Linked DNA regions of Homo sapiens: all the other regions are linked to region 1. Evidence: promoter capture Hi-C in human tissues and cell types (Jung and others, 2019). All regions are on one chromosome and are shown on one strand. Each heading gives the region's core, a stretch centred on a gene start or on the middle of the fragment in contact. The rest is flanking DNA. Distances are from core to core; before and after follow the strand shown.

What was found. The method cuts DNA at HindIII sites, captures the fragments that hold promoters and counts their contacts. A contact is called where the count stands out against the background at its distance.
Region 2: a fragment that was not itself captured here is called in contact with the fragment with the promoter of ITIH2 in region 1 in 4 of the 25 tissues and cell types used here (neural progenitor cells, spleen, stomach and 1 more).
Region 3: a contact is called between a fragment that was not itself captured here and the fragment with the promoter of ITIH2 in region 1, in 2 of the 25 tissues and cell types used here (aorta and stomach).

What each region holds. Positions count from the first base shown.
Region 1 is chr10:7,701,574-7,704,824 of GRCh38, forward strand. It overlaps ITIH2 (inter-alpha-trypsin inhibitor heavy chain 2), which reads left to right and starts at 1,743. Exons shown (of 21, transcript NM_002216.3): 1 at 1,743-1,945. The coding sequence starts at 1,862. The HindIII fragment of the contact is 26,123 bases long and covers 1-3,251 here.
Region 2 is chr10:7,735,565-7,739,044 of GRCh38, forward strand. ITIH2 (inter-alpha-trypsin inhibitor heavy chain 2) reads left to right here. Exons shown (of 21, transcript NM_002216.3): 16 at 3,057-3,194. Among named protein-coding and RNA genes, the nearest start is that of ITIH2, 34 kb to the left of the region's middle. The HindIII fragment of the contact is 7,154 bases long and covers 1-3,480 here.
Region 3 is chr10:7,650,506-7,654,038 of GRCh38, forward strand. All of the region lies in intron 2 of ITIH5 (inter-alpha-trypsin inhibitor heavy chain 5), which reads right to left. Among named protein-coding and RNA genes, the nearest start is that of ITIH5, 15 kb to the right of the region's middle. The HindIII fragment of the contact is 9,278 bases long and covers 1-3,533 here.

The DNA of each region.
Region 1 (3,251 bases), core at 493-2,992:
TGCTTTTGGTTTGGTTTATTCTGAGATAATTCTGAATATCAGATTAAAATAATCAGAAAGGAAATGATCAATGGAAGGAGGTATGATTTTGAAAGTCACTGCTGTTTTTGGGAGAACATGCCATTGGGTTTTTTATTATTTATTTATTTTTTTCTTTTGAGACCAAGTCTTGCCCTGTTGCCCAGGTGGAATGCAGTGGCGTGATCTCAGCTCACTCTAACCTCCGCCTCCCCAGTTCAAGCAATTCTCATGCCTCAGCCTCCCAAGTAGCTGGGATTACAGGCGCATGCCACCACACCTGGCTAATTTTTGTATTTTTAGTAGAGACGGGGTTGCACTATGTTGGCCAGGCTGGTCTCAAACTCCTGACCTCAGGTCATCCACCCGCCTCAGTCTCCCAAAGTGCTGGGATTACAAGTGTGAGCCACCGCGCCCAGCTGCCATTGGGTCTTAATTCTCCAGAAACAGTATCTCAGTCAAGAATGCAAAGCTGTGGCAGGATTTTTCCATGAGGGGTCCACTGAGGCACTCACTGGCCAAGGTGGGCGCTCAACTAGTCCAACCTAGGCAAGGGAGGGGAGAATCTGTTTTCTCCCTTCCATTATTTCAGAAGTTATGTTTCTCCAGCAGACACACGGCTGTGCAATTTCGAAGACTGAGGGGAAACTAGGGAGGAAAATGCAGAAAACTCTCTGTTGCATGCCCTGTGAATTGGGCTTTAAATGTAGCAAGGAGCTCCAGGATCCCAGAAGTTGGCCTGGGGTGCTTGGTCCTGAGGATAAGACAACCTCCCTTGTATTGTAATTCTGCCCACAGCTGGAGCTTCCTATTTCAGTGTTGCATCCAAGAAGTTACATTTCCTGTTTGTTGCAAGAAAAATAGAATCTGACCAGGATGGAGGCTAGGCATGGGGGCTCACATCTGGAATCCCAGCAGTTTCGGAGGCTGAGGCAAGCAGATAGCTTGAGCCCAGGTGTTCAAGACCAGGATGAGCAACATGATGAAATCCCATCTCTACAAAAAATAGCCAGGCAGTGTAGTGCACACCTGTAGTCCAGCTACTCTGGAGGCTGAGGTGGGCAGATTGCTTGAGCCGGGGGAAGTTGAGGCTGCAATGAGCTTTGATCTCACCACTGCACTCCAATTCTGAGACTGGGGAGTATTGATTTGCCACTGACCTGAGCCCGGCTGATAGGGGCAGCAGGACAGACACTGTTACCTTAATCAAAGACATTCACGAAGCATTCTCACTGAAGATCTGCCCTAGTATCCTGCACAGCCACTTGCCTGGGTCTTTATAGGTAACAGGTAGACAGTCATCAAAGAGATAGGGGAAAACATGCACAATGAATTCTTTGCTCAGAAAAACCCTTCTGTGTCTTCTCCCACTTTTTCTAAATTTTTCCTGCTTTCATTTAGATCAAAGGATTTTGTTTCTTGGAATAGTTCTGCACTTGGTCCTTTAGAAAGGATGACAATTATCTGTAGGTCTCTCTGATTTTAAGATCAATAGAAATCAGCAAAAGCCAAAAAATAAAAAATAAAAATAAAATAAAAGCACACAAGCACATTCAAGCACATCCATCTGCCCCTGACTTGTCCTCACAGTAAGCAACTGCTTCTGACTTTGCTGTTTGAATAACCTCTGGGTGTTCGATCCACCCACACAGCTCAAGTTTGAGCTCCAGAACAAATATTTGTCCCAATTTTGAACAAAGTTAGAGAGTTTTTTCTTCTTTTTTCTTCTTTCTTAAAGCGAACTGTACTCCTCTGCTGTTCCTTTGAACTTGGTTCAGTAGGAAGAAGTGATATCCTCCCCAGACCATCTGCTTTGGGGAGCTTGGCAAAACTGTCCAGCAAAATGAAAAGACTCACGTGCTTTTTCATCTGCTTCTTTCTTTCTGAAGTATCAGGCTTCGAAATCCCCATAAATGGACTTTCTGAAGTAAGTACTTACAGATCACTCCTTGCTGTTGGCTTGTTCATGAGCTCAGTAAATCATCTATTGGAATCGCTATTCAATGGCCTTATTCTGTGTGTAATGGAAACTTAAGATAAAATTCATCTGAGTGCAAGTGTTTACTGTTATAATTACTGGAATGTATATTTACCTTTTAAAGCATTAACAGGTTTTGCATGAAAATTAAGTCAAGATCAATGGGCAGGCATCAGAGCGTAGCATTTATGGAGCAGAGCTGCTCACTCCTCACCTAAAAAATTGGGGGTAAGAATAGACCTAACCCAATGGTTTGCTTTGAGAATTAAATGACACAGTGTAAACTCTTCTAGCAGAGCGCCTGGACTAGTAAGTGCTTAATAATTACTAGCTGTTATGATGATGAAGAAATATTATCACTCTTTTACTAAGAGTATAAGAAAAGTCATTATCAAAGCACACTGTTTTTCATATCTAAGTGAACAGTGATATTTGTAATAAGAGCACTTTAAGTATTCCTATTAAAGCGGAAGATAGCAGGCAGGGTGGAAAAGTACAAGAATAATTCCCATGGAGTACAGGTCTCCACTTTTGTCCCTTAGCCATCTCCAATGTAAGGAAAGTCTTGGACTGAAAGTCTGTTTCTGAAAGTCATACAAGAGCTATTTTTATGCCAGAAAAGCGAAGCATGTTATGGGAACATCCCAGCAAATGCAAAGGCTTATAATACTTGCAGAGTGGATTACCTATAAAAATGCCAGAGAATATGACGGCATATTTACAAAGGGAAAATATCACTCTGTCTGCTTTGAAACTATCATATTTTCCAACACTTAAAAGCCACCAGAGTGTGTTAGAAATCTCAAATTGAAGCCAAGACATCCAAATGTGTTTGTGCTTTTTCAGTCATTTCTAACTGGCATTTCCTTTTAGAAAATACCTACATTTTTAACTTGGGGAGATGTATGGTTCATGTCTGTCCAGTCAGACACTGCAAATGCCTCCAGGGTCTACCCAGATACTTCCCCAGACACCCACCTAATCACTGGGTTGTTTTGATCTCTGTCTTACCACCTGCTGGCAAACTCAAAAATGAATTCCCATGTCCAACAAATGCGAAGGTGTTGTTACCCTCCATTTGGACACCTCTGAGACGTAACCAGCAAATAGAAATATACTAAAGAAATCATTTTATACAAAATTGTGATTGCCCAGAGGTAGAGGAAAGAATATAAAATAATGAATACCAACAGCTATCTCTTTGGCTCTAGATCTTTTGGAAATCATCATTCTCAGCAAAGTAACACAAGAAGGG
Region 2 (3,480 bases), core at 698-3,197, 34 kb after region 1:
TACAATTTCTATATGCAACTAACATAATCATAGTATTTTATAAATATTGACCTTTTAAAATAAAACTGTCACATCACTGTTTTCTTTTTCTTTTCTTTTCTTTTCTTTTCTTTTTTTTTTTTTTTTGAGACAGAGTCTTGCTCTGTTTACCAGGCTGGAGCACAATGGCACGATCTCAGCTCCCTGCAACCTCAGCCTCCCAGGTTCAAGCAATTCTCCTGCTTCAGCCTCCCAAGTAGCTGGGATTACAGGCATGTGCCACCACGCCCAGCTAATTTTTTGTATTTTAGTAGAGACGGGGTTTTACCATGTTGGCCAGGCTGGTCTCGAACTCCTGACCTCAGGCGATCCACTTGCCTTGGCCTCCCAAAGTGCTGGGGTTACAGGCGTGAGCCACCGTGCCTGACCATATCACTGTTTTCAATACATCTAATAAAACAGAATACTTAATTGGTTACTCACTATCACTCATTTTTAAAAAATACATAAGCAAATCCTATATTACAATTACTAGAACCTGGCCAGTCATGGTGGCTCATGCCTATAATCCCAGCACTTTGGGAGGCTGGAGTGGGTTAATTGCTTGAGCCTATGAACATGAGACGAGCCTGGTCAACATAGCAAAACCCCATCTTTAGAAAAAAATACTAAAATTAGCCAGCCATGGTGGCACATGCCCATAGTCCCAAATACTCAGGAGGCTGAGGCGGGAGGATTGCTTGAGCCTGGAAGGTGAAGGTTGCAGTGAGCCAATCACACCACTGCACTCCAGCCTGAGTAACAGAATAAGACCTTGTCTCGAAAAAAAATTATTGGAAGTTTTATATTATTCTTTTTTCTAGTTGAACTTGTATTTCCACTCCACTTGCCCAGCAGAACTATATCCTATTGTAATATATTTTTATGCTTATTTTAGTAATCACCTCACTTATCTATAAGAAAAAAAGTTTATACATTTTAATTTTAATTAAGAATTTAATTTAAAAATCATAACCATAAGATTCTGAGTATTCAAAATTCCCTTCTGAACCTGGTCTGATTAATATTACTACTAGTAGCCAAGTGAGCAAAATAATATAAATAGATTATAAATTTGTTTACAAATAAGAAGTAAAACTGGAGTGGAAATAATCTATAATCTCTTACTGGGAAAAATGTGACTGTTTTTCATGTATTCATGGGTAAGTATTATTTACGAATGGATTGAAAGAGACAGGATTCGGCATCAATTCTACTTTTAAGAGAACTTGTATGGGCAGAAGTCCTGATAAATATTGGTTGGTATAGACAAGTGGATAGAAATGGCAAGTGTCTGGTTATATTCAGTTACTCGCTTATCTGAACTCTTTCATATTATATGCCAAAACATGCATACAGACCTAGCGTCCAAAAAATTTTGTATAATTTATCAGCTGACAATGTGAGCCCTTCTTCAATTTTGTTGAAAGCAAAGAATTGGAAGCCCTGTGGTTTGTACAAGCACTTGCTCCCAATCATTGGAATCAGGTTTCTTGCCCTACACCAGTATTCCAATGGATGTTTTGCTTCCTGGAGGACTCTGGGGGAGGGGAGTAGACAAGAACTGGCCTTCTGCTTGTAAACTAGGAGAAAAGGCTTTCTTTAGGAACGAGTCTGTGTCTAAACTGAGACTCTAGAAATTGCCTTTCAAACAGTCCATGCTCTCTGAGTCCTGCAGAAAGTATCCAGGCACCCCCGAGGGTGCACACACCCAGGGCTAGGAGACCTCAGGTTTATACGTCTCTTTCTTTTCTCTTTCTTGGGGACTGGTTCTACCGAAACATATATACATATATGATATATACACACACGTGTATATATCTCATATATATATATATATATATACACGTGTATATATATATATAACAGATAACGTATAATTATAATTATATTATCTGTAATATATAATTATATATATTTTGTATTCTATATATTATATACTATGTATTCTATATAATATATATTATGTATTCTATATAATATTATATATTAAATTCTATATTCTATATTATATTCTATATTCTATAGAATATTCTATATTATATTCTATATTCTATAGAATATTCTATATTATATTCTATATTATATTCTATATTTTCTATATTATATTCTATATAATATTCTATATTATATTCTATATAATATTCTATATTATATTCTATATAATATTCTATATTATATTCTATATAATATTCTATATTATATTCTATATAATATTCTATATTATATTCTATATAATATTCTATATTATATTCTATATATTATATATTATATTCTATATATTATATATTATATTCTATATATTATATATTATATTCTATATATTATATATTATATTCTATATATTATATATTATATTCTATATATTATATATTATATTCTATATATTATATATTATATTCTATATATTATATATTATATTCTATATATTATATATTATATTCTATATATTATATATTATATTCTATATATTATATATTATATTCTATATATTATATATTATATTCTATATATTATATATTATATTCTATATATTATATATTATATTCTATATATTATATATTATATTCTATATATTATATATTATATTCTATATATTATATATTATATTCTATAAAATATTATATATTATATTCTATATAATATTATATATTATATTCTATATAATATTATATATTATATTCTATATAATATTATATATTATATTCTATATAATATTATATATTATATTCTGGGCCTTCTCCCAGACTTCGCTCCCCGGCCTGCACTGGAGTCACGGGGCCCTTCCCCGGCCCTATAAAGCGGTTCCTCCCACTGCCACCCTTGCTCAGGTTCCAGACTCCAGAGAGAACTGTATCACAGGCCTCCTCCCTCAGCAACATGACAGAGGGAGCCCGAGAGAACTCTGGAATAAAAACAGAGGAGAAAAACCTAAGCTGACAATACCTGGGGGTGCATAAAACAGATTCTTGACATGGTGAGCAATTTCCGTGGAAACGTAAATCTAGAAACTAACAGATGCAGGTTTGTCTACGCAGGGGCCCTGTATTACGGCAGCAAAGTGGTTCCAGATTCCACCCCGTCTTGGGCCAATCCTTCACCAACGCCCGTGATCTCCATGCTGGCACAAGGATCTCAGGTGCTAGAGTCCACGCCACCCCCACATGTGATGAGAGGTAACGCTTCTACACTGCTTGCACGTCCCAGAACTCAGCCGACCATAATCCTGGGAAGCATTGTGTGCATGAGGCCAGGTGCAGCGGCTCACGCCTGTAATCGCAGCACTTTGGGAGGCCAAGGCAGGCAGATCACCTGTTTTTCTATAGAAATACAGCTTATTTTGTTTGTTTTTAATCATGTATTTACAGAATCCTAGTTTTGTTCAGTCTTTAAAAAAACCTTTCTGCAAACAGTTTCAGTGGGAGGTTTGGGTAGTAGCTGTGGTCATGCCAGGAAAATGTA
Region 3 (3,533 bases), core at 77-2,576, 51 kb before region 1:
TGGTGGATCACCTGAGATCAGGAGTTTGAGACCAGCCTGGCCAACATGGTGAAACCCCGTCTCTATTAAAAATGCAAAAAATTAGCCAGGTGTGATGATGGGTGCCCATAATCCCAGCTACTCAGGAGGCTAAGGCAGGAGAATCACTTGAACCCGGGAAGAGGAGGTTGCAGTGAGCCAAGATAATGCCATTGCACTCCAGCCTGGGTGACAAGAGCAAAACTCCATCTCAAAAAAAAAAAAAAATACAGCCCATGTTGTTATTGAATGAAACAGGAGAAAAAGGCACTTCCCCAACTGCTAGATTTACCACCTCGGGGAAATCATTTTACCCCTCTGTAGACAGGAAATGGCATCGGTTCTGAATCACCTACTTGTGCTAATACAGTCTACGTAGTGATGTTTCATTATATTTAGGGGAGAAGGAAAACAAAATGCCATTTTTATTTTTATACAAGAAAACCCTCCCCCTCCCCCGCCCCATTCTATACACTTCCTGAACAGGATGCACACAATGGTCAGAGTTGGGCACAGGCACAGACACACATATGACTGGTCCTCAATGAGGTATGATGCCCAGAGTCATGCTACCTGCTGTATTGACTGTATTTTCTTGTTTTCTATATTCTTGATGCTCTGGCATTTGGGGCTTTGATCCTGGAAAGACCGTCCCTCCCAGGGCTGGCTTGTTCCTAGGAACAGCAGACAACCCTGCTGCAAGCATACCTTTGATATATAAACCGACCAATCCATAGCCACACATCCAACCATCTCCCATATCAAACTCATGCACCTCGGCTGGGCACGGTGGCTCACGCCTGTAATCCCAGCACTTTGGGAGGGCAGGGCAGGCGGATCACCTGAGGTCAGGAGTTTAAGACCAGCCTGGCCAACATGGCGAAACCCATCTTTACTAAAAATACGAAAATTAGCCGAGCGCGATGATGCATGCCTGTAATCCCAGGTACTCGGGAGGCCTCTAATCCCAGGTGCTCGGGAGACTGAGGCGCAAGACTCACTTGAACCCAGGAAGTGGAGGTTGCAGTGAGCCGAGATCGCACCACTGGGCTCCAGCCTGGGCCACAGAGTGAGACTCTGTCTCAAAATAATAATAATAATAATAACAATAATAATAAATAAAACTCATGCGCCAAGCCAATACTCCCCCTACCCTAAATCTCCCCAGGACCAGGTACCTGACAACTAGAGACCAACCCTACAGCCAATCCTAAACCTCCTCAGCCTACCTACTACCCTGCCTTGCCCATTCCTTCCCATGAAAACCCCAATGCAGGCTCTGAGACACACACTGTCCTCTGCACCTTCTGCCCCTGACCCACCATGGTGCTTCCCCATGTGTCCTGGCATGGTATGCTGCTGCCCCTGCCTCCAGGGATCTGTGAGTATGAAATTCCTCCTTCATGTCAGTCATTTCTCTGTCTGTGTATCTTACCACACTCAATAGAAACAAACCCTGAGCACAAACTGTAGAACACCTGCTGCAAAGCAGACACCAAGACAGACCCTGCAGTCAGGAGGTTAAATGATGGCAGCGAATCCTCTTGGGAAACCCAGGCCAGGATCCATTCAGCACCATGGAAATTCACACACAAAGATCCCCCTGCTTTCCAAAGAGTAAATATTTTGTGTGTATGTATGCCAGGGAGCTTCATAAAAAGGGTATCTAATTAATTCAGAATAAAATCAAACAAATTCCTGTGGTCCTGGCAGTGTTACGGGAGTACCAGCTGTTGCCATCCACATTCTATTCATTAATTCAAGCACGGAACATTCAGAGGATGACAACTGGAGGGAGATGGCAAGAATGCAGGCTAGAAGGAGACTCATAGGATGAACTGAGCTCCAGAGGCAAGCAGGAGGCGCATCACGCAGGGTTTCACACATCCTTGGAGCTTATCCCACGGGTGATGTGGAGTCACTGAAGACATGCACGCAAGAGAGTGATGCGCCAGGTCTACCACTGGAAAAATCATTCTAGTACCAACTGGATGGTCAGTAAAGTTCATGTTAAAAATTTATGATAGTTGTAAAAGTAAGACTTTCAAAATTCTAAGAAATTTCTAAGAAAATCTAAGAGGTTATATAAATGGTCTAAGCTAAGGAGTCAAGAAAATCTTTGTACCCTTAGAGGCTACGTGTACAAAGCCTCTTTTTCCTTTCCTTTGAAAGGAAAACATAAACTACTTATTACTTAGGAACTGAGCACTTTTATGTGGCAAACATACCAGAAAGAAAGTTAATAAATGATAGATTCAGAGAGGCATTCTTCCAGTTTAGAAGACAGAAGGTATCTATCACATACAAAGGTCTCTGATAAATTGACAATGAGGTGGATAAAAAACACAATAGAAAGATGGGCAAAGGACCTGGAAAAAAAAAAGCAATTCACAGGAGAACGACTCTGAATGGCTAACAAATATAATTTAAAATGTCCAAATCCTTGTTATGGAGAATGGTTTGAGCAATAAAAGAAAAAAATTCCAAATTCGTACATAGGCAGGGAAATGCAAGTTAAAGGAACAATGAGATATCACTTCCTAAGTAAGAGATTGGCAAATTTAAAAGAGTAATTATATCAGTTGCTGGCAGAAATGTGTGTATTCATCATTGCTGATAGACATGGTATGAATACAGATAGTGTTAAGAGTAATAGTATTCAAAAATTAATCTGACATCTATCAAAAAAAAGGTTGTTTTTGAGACAGAGTCTTGCTCTGTTGCCCAAGCTAGAGTGCAGTGGTGCAATCTCAGCTCACTGCAACCTATGCCTCCTGGGTTCAAGCAATCCTCCCGCCTCAGCCTCCCGAGTAGCTGGGATTACAGGCATACACCACCACGCTTGGCAAATTTTTGTATTTTTTAGTAGAGATGGGGTTTCACCATGTTAGCCAGGCTGGTCTTGAACTCCAGACCTCAGGTGATTCACCCCCCTCAGCCTCCCAAACTGCTGAGATTACAGGCGTGAGCCATCGAGCCTGGCAAAATTTAAAATGTATATGCAGTTTGAATTGTAAGTCGTAGAATTAAAAATACCCACATAAAAGAAGAAATGAAAGTGTTTTTTGAAGGATTGTGTACAGGGTGAAAAAATCTGGAAATAAATTGAGAGTTCATCAATAACAGAAAGTTTAGTAAATTATAATACATATAAATACAGATTTAAATACATATAACTGAGAGGCCCATTTGGTGTATTAGTTAAGAGCATGGACTCAGACACTGAACTGGACTCAAATCCTGGCTCTACCACCTCTTCCCAGCTGTGTCGTCTTGGGAAAATTACTCTCTCTGAATTTGTTTTCTCATCTGTAAAATGCCTCAAATAATTGTTATAAGAGTAATTGAGGGCCAGATGCAGTGGCTCACGCCTGTAATCCCAACACTTTGGGAGGCCGAGGTGGGCGGATCACCTGAGGTCAGGAGTTTGAGACCAACCTAGCCAACATGGTGAAACCCCATCTCTACTAAAAAAATAGAAAAATTAGCCAAGTGTGGTGGTGCATGCCTGTAAT